Linked DNA regions of Homo sapiens: region 1 is linked to region 2. The links are contacts of gene promoters, found by promoter capture Hi-C in human tissues and cell types (Jung and others, 2019). All regions are on one chromosome and are shown on one strand. The core of a region is centred on a gene start or on the middle of the fragment in contact, and the rest is flanking DNA. Distances in the headings are between cores, read along the strand shown. Region 1 overlaps DNAJC7 (DnaJ heat shock protein family (Hsp40) member C7). Region 2 holds the start of HAP1 (huntingtin associated protein 1).

Region 1 (5,163 bases), core at 2,336-4,835, 250 kb before region 2:
CAAAAAATTAGCCAGGCCTGGTGGCGCATGTCTGTAATCCCAGCTACTCAGAGGGCAAAGGCAGGAGAATTGCTTGAACCCGGGAGGCAGAGGTTGCAGTGAGCCAAGATCATGCCATTGCACTGCAGCCTGGGCAACAAGAACGAAACTCCATCTCAAAAAAAACAAAAAACAAAAAAACAGAAAACTTTCAGGACAGTAAACCTGTGCCACTGAAGGAGAGGCATTCCTGTCACTGCTGTGTGACACTGCAGAAAGTCTTCTCAGTGAAACAGCTGGTAATGTGGTAGTGTTTACTGACTTGCTCATATTTTAAATTTCAGTTTTGGAATAGGTGCTATTCATGGTTCAAAAACTAGAAAGTGTTGCCAGATGCAGTGGCTTATGCTTGTAATCCCAGCACTTTGGGAGGCCAAGGCAGGAGGATCACTTGAGGCGAGGAGTTCGAGACCAACCTGGGCAACTTATTGAGACCCTGTCTCTACAGATAATTTAAAATTTTAGCTGAGTGTGGTGACGTGTGCCTGCAGTCCCAACTACTCATGAGGCTGAGGCAGGAGAATCACTGGAGTCTGGGAAGTCGAGGCTGCAGTGAGCCATGATTGTGCCACTGATACTCCAGCCTGAACAGCAGAGCAAGACCCCATCTCAAAAACAAAACAAACAAAAGTTAGAAAGTATGAAAAATATTCAGTGATGAGTGTCCCCTCAAACTTGTCCTCTCTCCGCCCAGTTCTCACTCCCCTAAGCTAACCACTGTTCTTATGTCTTCTATTTTCTTCCTTAGTTTTGTTGTACTTATATAAAATAAAGATCCTTGATTTTCTCCCTTTATTTAGCGTGAAAGGTAGTATGCTTTATGGCAGGTCTGCACCTTTAAAAAAAAATCACTGAGTAGCTCTTGGAAGTCTTTCCATATTAGTACATGAAGAGCTTCTTCATTCTATTTTAGAACTATATAGTATTCCATTATATGAATGTCCATGTTAACTAACCAGTCTCCTGTGGATGGAATTTGAATTTTTCTGCTTGTAAGTTTTCAGAGTTTATCTCTTCCTGACCCCCATGGCCAAATTCTTAGAGGGAATAGGTGTCCCTTAACTCCAGATTTGTCCTTCGGTTCATTTATTCTCGGCGTGAATGTGATTCAGCAAGGCTCTCCCAGGAATAAATAGCAGCTAAACCAAAACTGAAAGCTCAGAGGACAAACTAGTAAAAAGAGAAAAACAGAATATATGGAGATGCTTTATGAGGCTGAAAGAGTAAATTAATCCCCACCTTTTTGTGTGTGTGATTGCTCCTTGGCTTGTGGTTTGTATAGTGGCATGTTGGGAATAGTAATCTGATGTAGCCTATTTAGAGCCATTTAAAATAACTATTTTAAGGCTGGGTGTGGTGGCTCACGCCTGTAATCCTAGCACTTCGGGAGGCTGAGGAGGACGGATCACGAGGATCAAGACCATCATGGCTAACATGGTGAAACCCTGTGTTTACTAAAAATACAAAAAAAAATTAGCTTGGGCGTGGTGGCGGGCGCCTGTAGTCCCAGCTACTCGGGAGGCTGAGGCAGGAGAATGGCGTGAACCCAGGAGGCAGAGGTGGCAGTGAGCCAAGATCCTGCCACTGCACTCCAGCCTGGGTGACAGAGTGAGACTCCATCTCAAAAAAAAAAAAAAAAGTGATAATATTGCCTATTTCATAAAATTCTTGTGAGGATTAAATGGGTTCATATATGAAAGTACCCAGTAAATGTTTACTGTCCTCATTATCATCTGGAGCCTTTGCTGTCCTCATTTCAGTGCTTTTATTTAATGAATTAGGTATGTTTTTAAACTTTGATATTACTTAGAAGTGGACCCAAAGACCTCATTGAGTTTTGAGTCTGTTACCTGTGACTAAACTAAAGTGAAGATGTTTCTGGAGTCCCTGATGAAGAGCCTTATTTGTTTTCTTCTTCCCTACAGGTTGTTTTCTGCATGGACCGTGCCCTAGAATTTGCCCCTGCCTGCCATCGCTTCAAAATCCTCAAGGCAGAATGTTTAGCAATGCTGGGTCGTTATCCAGAAGCACAGTCTGTGGCTAGGTATGCAGTCAGGCTAGCTGGACATTAAAATGCCAGATACCATTGGACTGATGGTGTCCGGCAGCTTCACCACAGGATATGGTCCCCAGAGTAGGCCAGCTAGGGCTGATCAGACCCTCTTGGGACTTAAAGTCAAAGATTAGACCAGCTTTGAAAACCCGTAGGGTATACAGGAGTATAGTAGTATAGCAGGTACTTGAGCTATATATGAAAGAACAGATTGTGTTTTTGTGGTTTTGTTTGTTTGTTTAAGGTAGTCCTTTTCCTTCTACTCCACTGGTTGGCACACTTTCTGCAAAGGGCCAGATTTTAGCCTTTGCAGGCCACAGGGTCTCTGTTGCAACTAACTCAACTCTGCCATTGCAGTGCAAAGGTTGCCCTAGATAATAGATGAACCAATGGGTGTGGCTGTTTGAATAGTGTTTTATTTACAAAAACCAGTGGCAGAAAGGATTTGGCCCTGTGGGCTGTAGTTTGCCAAACCCTGTTCTAGTTTAATAAGGATTGTAAGACACAAGATGTGTATTAAAGATAATTATAGGTGGTTTATTTGGGGAAAGTTTGGGAACAGTTCTTGGGAATCTGTCTACCTTTGGATATTTTGAATGCTAGACACATGGTCAAGGAGGAAAACTGGCCACAAATGGTAGTAATGGTGGGGACATTCTAAAGCACAGCTCAATGTGCCCTTTTCTGACTATTGCAGTGACATTCTACGAATGGATTCCACCAATGCAGATGCTCTGTATGTACGAGGTCTTTGCCTTTATTACGAAGATTGTATTGAGAAGGCAGTTCAGTTTTTCGTACAGGCTCTCAGGATGGCTCCTGACCACGAGAAGGCCTGCATTGCCTGCAGAGTAAGTTCTAGTCACCAGACCTAACTGGGAAAGAGCTTCCTTTTGGGACCTTTAAGATGGCTAGAGTGGAAGGTTTTAGAATCACAAGGAATGTGATAGCTTTTCCTCCTGCTTTGCAAGGATGCTTGGTCTTTATTAGAAATGGTTTCAGGACTACTTGTATTTACCTAAAGGTAGATGTGATCATATAGGGTCGGATGCCTTTAATATCTAAGAGGGTTTTTTTGTTTTGTTTTTCCCCTCAGTGAAGATAGATAGTAATACTTGTCCTGAGAAGTGAAGGCAGACCCAGTAACATAGGTCTCATTGGTATTTTTGGTAACTCTTTTCCTGTCCACTCTGTAGGAAGCTCAAATGAGCAACAGATAGCCCAGATTGGGGGTTGGCGGGGCTCTGTGATGCTGAACTGCTGGAAGCAAAGAACTTGAAAATAGAGTCTGGCCTCTCTGTGCAATGGTCTGAGGCTTTGTGGATATGAACCGATCCTCCCCTTGCTTTTTTCTGTAGAATGCCAAAGCACTCAAAGCAAAGAAAGAAGATGGGAATAAAGCATTTAAGGAAGGAAATTACAAACTAGCATATGAACTGTACACAGAAGCCCTGGGGATAGACCCCAACAATATAAAAACAAATGCTAAACTCTACTGTAATCGGGGTACGGTTAATTCCAAGGTAAGCTCTTGATCTAGATCTTGGGGCCTATAGAAATATTTTTAAGGGACATCAAAGGGTCTTGGGAAATCTGCCTAGTGAGGGTAAGCAAGATGAAAGAGGGAAAGTTGTTATGGTTAATAGTTTGTTAGGAACTCCCTTCCAAGAGGCAAGCTTTTGTCATCTCTATGGAATTTGAGGGCAGTTGGACAATTTGCAAGGATATTCTCACCTGTTCATTAAGGTCCCTTTCCTCCAGTAAGAGAATGGCTAGGGTCTGTGGGATAATCTTAAGCACCTACTGTTGCTTTTTTGTTGTTTTGCTTATGCAAGTGATCATTTATTTTTTAGGAGTGATTTGGAGGAAGAGTATGAGGCAAGCTTGTTTTTCTCCAGTGTAATTGATGGTCACCATGCATGGTTGAAAATGGCCTGAGTGCTTTTGTGGCCCTACCCAACATCAGAAACAAAAAGTAGACTCCTTGCCCTTGCAGAATTCTAGCAGTTAAAAATCAGAGTGATTTCTGATCCCTGCAGGTGACCTCTGGAAAAAAGGAGGGCAGGAACCAGCCTTACTATTTTCATGTTTTCATTGGGCACTAACATGGAATGGTAAAGGTAGTTTATCCTTGAAGACAGATGTGCCTGGCTTGTATCATATACAAGAGAAATCAATTTTGAAGTTGCTGTCCATAGCCCTGGTGACAAAGAACTAGAACTTAATATGACATTTAAGGGGCCAGCATGACTGATCCTCTTAGAGTTTTGAAGCCATGCTCACAGCTTCTGGGCTCCCTCAGTCACCAAAGGTGTGAAGTATGATTGCTCTCTCTCTCCTGAAGCTTAGGAAACTAGATGATGCAATAGAAGACTGCACAAATGCAGTGAAGCTTGATGACACTTACATAAAAGCCTACTTGAGAAGAGCTCAGTGGTAAGTGCCTCTGATGGGTAGGGGGAAGAGGGAGTTGCCGCTGGCCTCAGGGGAATTGCCTTGTGGATGACGAAGCAGACCCAGAGATGTTGTGAGGTCATTTGGTCCTTCCCCCTGCCTCTAGGTGGGATTGTTCCAGCCCTAGACTATCTTTATAGACCTCCAGCGGAGGAGATTGCACAAGCTCCCTCAGTCTCCCATGCCTGTGTCTAACGCCCCTCACGGTCAGTAAGTTTCCTCTGATGCCTGACCCAAATTCCTTTTGTTAAAAAGTTTAAATCCATTTCCTTTGGAGATTTTATTTTGTGTTGTACACTTATGCTCTACCCTGGCACAGTGCTTGACACATAGGTGCTCACTGAATAAATGTTTTGTTGAATGAATGTATGGTGCTTGGAAGAGAAAACAACTCTTGGAGACAGTTGAGAGTTGTACTTCATCCTGTTTGTTCTGGGCGAGGGAAGACAATCTTAGAGTTGGAAGAGATGTAATCCGGCTCAGCCTCCCAGGATAAAGGAACTTCCTTTTGAAACACCCTGGATGGCTACTCTCTGCTTGAGTGTTTTGAGTGGAGGGCACTCTGTGTCTGACAGGGTGATTATGAGCCAGGATGTGCCTACCTCTAATGCTCACAT
Region 2 (4,920 bases), core at 2,368-4,867:
AGTCTCTGTCCCTACTCCACTTTCTGTGGGGCGACTGAGCCTGTAGGTGAGGAAGCCACGTGGGGAGGTATACGGGCTGACACTGCCCTCTGGTGGCCGTAGCCAGAGTTGCTGGCTGCCAGTGCGCTGACCTAGAGGGTGTGGTCAGCTGGGGGAGCTTTCAGGGTCTCCTAACTTCATCTCTGTCTTCTCCATCCCACTGCCTCTGCCTTCTTCCCCGTCAAACTCTCCAGGGGTTTCCCAGGGCTTCTTCCTCATGGGGCCAGAAACAATTTAATTCAGCAGGAGTGTAATAGGCTTCTTCTGTATGCCCTGTTCTGTGCTTGGTGGTTGGGGCTGCAGAGATGTCCAAGGCACAGAGAGACAGTCCAGGAAGCTGGGCTGTGGGAGGACCACTCGGCAGAGCCTATGGAGCTGTAGCCTCACGGAAGCCTGGGCTGTGCCGATGCCCGAACAGCCACCTCCTTATGTTCTTCAACCTCACTGTCGTAGCAAACCCTGGGGTTGTGTGTCTCCTTCAAGCTTTCTGCTGACAAAGAAACCATAGGAAACATGCAGACTTTGGGCTGGGCACAGTGGCTCACGCCTGTAATCCCAGCACTTTGGGAGACCAAGGGGGAGGCGGATCACGTGAGGTCGGGAGTTCGAGACCAGCCTAACCAACATGGAGAAACCCCGTCTCTACTAAAAAGACAAAAGTAGCCGGATGTGGTGACGCATGTTATTGGGGAGGCTGAGGCAGAGGCAGGAGAATTGCTTGAACACGGGAGGTGGAGGATGTGGTGAGCCGAGATCGTGCCATTGCACTCCAGCCTGGGGCAACAAGAGCGAAACTCCGTCTCAAAAAAAGAAAAAAAAAAGAAAGAAAGAAAGAAAGAAAATAAAACATGCAGACTTTGAACAAGGAGGAGAACGGTTATGTTATGAAAGTTCCTCCATTTCCAGAAGTATTCTGGGAGATAAGCTCTCTTTTCTGCACCTGTTTTCTCCTCCCTGAGGGAACATTTCCATCAGCATGTAAACATATTGTCCTCTCTCCCATCTTCAAAACACACTCCCCAGCACTCATGTCCTCCTTCAGCTCCTGTGCCCTTTTCCAGCTCTCCTTTGTTGCAGATTTCTTCAATACAGTTTTCTATACTGTCTCCCTTCCTTCCTTCCTTCCTTCCTTCCTTCCTTCCTTCCTTCCTTCCTCCCTCCCTCCCTCCCTCCCGCCTTCCTTCCTTCCTTCCGACAGGGTCTTGCTCTGTCACCCAGGCTGGAGTGCAGCCTCGACCTGTGCTCAGGTGATCCTCCCACCTCAGCCCCTGAAGTAGTACAGGTATGCACCACCATGCCCAGCTATGTTTTTTTTTTTGAGACGGAGTTTCGCTCTTGTTGCCCAGGTTGGAGTGCAATGGCGCAATCTCGGCTCACTGCAACCTCCGCCTCCCGGGTTCAAGCGATTCTCCTGAGTACCTGGGATTACAGGCACCCGTCACCATGCTCAACTAATTTTTTGTATTTTTAGTAGAGACGGGGTTTCACTATGTTGGCCAGGCTGGTATCAAAATCCTGACCTCAGGCGATCCACCCGCCTAGGCTTCCCAAAGTGCTGGGATTACAGGTGTGAGTCACTGCGCCCGGCCAATTCTTGTATTTTTTTGTAGCGAAAGGGTTTTGCCATGTTGCCCAGGTTGGCCTCAAATTCCTGGGCTCAAGCAATTCACCCTCCTAAGCCTCCCAAAGTGCTGGGATTATAGGTGTGAGCCACAGCGCCTAGCCTTCTTTCTGTTTTCATTTTGTTACCTCTCGTTATTTCCTCACTCCTCTTTGGTCTCTCTCACCCCCTCTACCAAGACCGCTCTTTTTTTTTTTTTTTTTTTTTTTGAGACAAGTCTTGCTCTGTTGCCCAGGCTGGAGTGCAGTGGTGCAATCTCGGCTCACTGAAACTTCTGCCTCCTGGGTTCAAGCAATTCCCCTGCCTCAGCCTTCCAAGTAGCTGGGCTTACAGGCTTGTTCCACCACACCGAGCTAATTTTTGTATTTTAGTAGAGATGGGGTTTCACTATGTTGGCTGGGTTGGTCTCAAACTCCTGACCTCAGGTGATCCACCTGCCTTGGCTTCCCAGAGTGCTAGGATTACAGGTGTGAGCCACTGTGCCTGGCCCCGCAAGACCGCTCTTGCCGAGGCCATGACCCCAGCTCACCAAGGTTGCCCATGACCCCAGTTTGCCAAGCTGAGTCTCTGTCCTCAGTCTTTGCCTGGCCCAACAGCACCACCCAACACAGGTGGCCACTCTCTACATGAAACATTTTCTTTACTTTCTAGGACCCAACTTTCCTGGTTTTCCTCTACTTCACTGCCCCACTCATCCCAGTCTTCCTTTGATGCCTCCTCTTCTTCTTTCTGCCCTCTGAATCCTAGGGGGTTAGTCCTGGGCGCTCTTACCTGTCTTCTCTCAGTCTCTTGGGGATCTCACCAGTCTCATAGCTTTAAATGGTCATCAAAGAACAATGACTCCTACATTTAAATCTCCAGCCCGGTCTCTCCCCTACATTCAGATTTATACATCTAATTGTCTACCCAACATTTCCAGTAGGATACTTAAAAAAAAAGTATTCTATTTATTTATTTATTTTGAGGGGTAGGCTCGCTCTGTAGCCCCAGCTGGAGTGCATTGGCACAATTTCGGTTCACTGCAACCTCTACCTTCCAGGTTCAAGCAATTCTCCTGCCTCAGCCTCTTGAGTAGCTGGGACTACAGGCACACGCCACCATGCTTGGCTAATTTTTGTATTTTTAGTAGAGACAGGGTTTCACCAGGTGGCCAGGCTTGTCTGGAACTCCTGACCTCAGGTGATTCGCCTGCCCCGGCCTCCCAAAGTGCTGGGATTACAGGCGTGAGCCACTGCGCCCGGCTACAGGGAGACTTTTAAGAGGCGTCTCCCAAGGAGAACAGGGGTTCGCCAGCATGGCAAGAGGAGGGCAAAGCGAACTAGGGTTGGAGGTGAAGAACAGTTAATCCAATCAAATGGAAGACGTCGAGTGGCGCGAGCACTGGGGTGTGAGCGCGAGGGTCAGGGTTGCAGCGCCAGGCAGGGTTGCAGCGCCAGGCAGGGTTGCAGCGCCAGGCAGGGTTGCAGCGCCAGGCAGGGTTGCAGCACGTTGGAAGCGCACTGGAGTTTGGAATGTCTCTCCCAGTCAACCGGGAAAGACGCAGCGCTGCCCTAATGCACTGGCCACCCCAGACCGTATGCACAACGTTGGGTTGGCAGCTTCTACACCAGGGAAGGCACCCGAAACCCCGGCGCGGCAGCTGGGGAGGGGCTGCCCCCAGCCAGGGACCCGCGAGTGCTGGGGCAGCCGCGGCTTTGGGCAGAACCATTCTCCGGAGATGGAGAGGGCAGAAAAAATCTTTCGCTCCCATCCCAACTCGGAGCCATCCGGAACTTGCACTCGCCCTTCTTGCCCTGCTTTTCTTACTGTGCTCTGTTCCGTCACCACTAGCTCCCCTCCCGCGCGGCTCTGAGTCCCGCTTGCCACTAGTTGCTTCTCGGCAGCCCCCACCCCTACGCGTGGTCCGGCCCGGCGGCTGGCGCAGGTTATAAAGGTCCCGCCGCAGCAGCGGACGGCAGACTCGAGATGCGCCCGAAGAGGTTGGGCCGGTGCTGCGCGGGGAGCCGGCTCGGACCCGGGGACCCAGCAGCACTCACCTGTGCACCTTCGCCCTCAGCCAGTCCCGCTCCGGAGCCCTCTGCGCAGCCGCAGGCACGGGGCACTGGACAGAGAGTAGGATCCCGAGCCACCTCTGGATCCCAGTTCCTCTCGGAAGCCCGCACCGGAGCTCGCCCGGCCTCGGAGGCTGGAGCCAAGGCAGGAGCCCGGCGCCCGTCCGCATTCTCGGCCATCCAAGGGGATGTCCGGTCTATGCCCGACAATTCGGACGCGCCGTGGACCCGCTTCGTATTCCAAGGGCCGTTTGGTTCCCGGGCCACTGGCCGGGGGACTGGAAAGGCAGCGGGCATCTGGAAGACGCCAGCCGCCTACGTTGGCCGGCGACCCGGGGTGTCCGGCCCTGAGCGCGCCGCCTTTATTCGGGAGCTGGAGGAAGGTAAATCGGGCCCCCGGGGTCCTGGACCGGGTGGGGACTGGGGCAACTCCAGGGAGGAAGTGGCCCCATCGGGTCCAGGCACCCCGCCCCCTCTAGCACTCAGTGTCACCCGTCCACCACCCCCGCGATGTCACTGCGGTGTCTGTCTGGTCGCCCCTTCTCCATCTCCTCCTCTGCTCTTGTCCCCTGGTTTGTGCCCGTGAGTCAGGTTCTGGGGCCTGCACGCTCGCCCACCCACCTCCACGCGCCTCTTGCTGCGGCAGATCTGCACCCCTTCAGCGCCCCTCTCCTGGGTCTACCGCAGTGCCAGGAGAGGGGCGGGGGGCTGCGGGAGGGCGCTGTCCCGCGCGCTCTGAGTCTGCGCTGGCCGACCGGGCTTGCGTGCGATGGAGGGGTGGGTGGGCGGGCGGAGGGGGAAGTTTTGCCCACTTTTTGGTTGCGGGTATGGGGGCAAAGTCGCGCTCTTTTCCTGCCCCTTGTCTCTCCTATCCTCCTGCGGGTCGGGGGAGATCTCTGGATTGGGCCTAGAGGCTCGAGTGTCTCCTAATCTGGTGAAGTCTTCCTCCTGTCCTCTGCACACGCAACAGGTGCAGGGTGAGTGGCTGCGTCTGTTTGTATGACCCAGGAGACTCCATTGCACTGCCTCCTGGGTAGGGGGTGATGAGCCAGTCTGAGGCTGTACTTCCCCTGGCTGTCTCCATTCTAGGCGCCAGGGACCCAGGTGTCCGGAGAGCCCAGTTTCTGAGCCTGGAGGACTGTGACCCCCTTACCTCAGGCTCCTCCAGGGGTAAAAAAAAAAAAAAAAAAAAAAAAGCCGGGCGCGGTG

What was found. Contacts are between HindIII fragments. The study calls those that stand out against the background at their distance.
Region 1: a fragment that was not itself captured here is called in contact with the fragment with the promoter of HAP1 in region 2 in 4 of the 25 tissues and cell types used here (H1 embryonic stem cells, mesendoderm cells, pancreas and 1 more).

Annotation. Positions count from the first base shown.
Region 1 is chr17:41,987,184-41,992,346 of GRCh38, reverse strand. DNAJC7 (DnaJ heat shock protein family (Hsp40) member C7) reads left to right here. Exons shown (of 14, transcript NM_003315.4): 6 at 1,965-2,083; 7 at 2,790-2,943; 8 at 3,451-3,615; 9 at 4,437-4,528. Among named protein-coding and RNA genes, the nearest start is that of CNP, 23 kb to the right of the region's middle. RefSeq lists enhancers at 3,402-3,902, 3,903-4,403. The HindIII fragment of the contact is 3,975 bases long and covers 1,598-5,163 here.
Region 2 is chr17:41,733,340-41,738,259 of GRCh38, reverse strand. It overlaps HAP1 (huntingtin associated protein 1), which reads left to right and starts at 3,617. Exons shown (of 11, transcript NM_177977.3): 1 at 3,617-4,094. The coding sequence starts at 3,626. RefSeq lists an enhancer at 4,186-4,728. The HindIII fragment of the contact is 15,187 bases long and covers 1-4,920 here.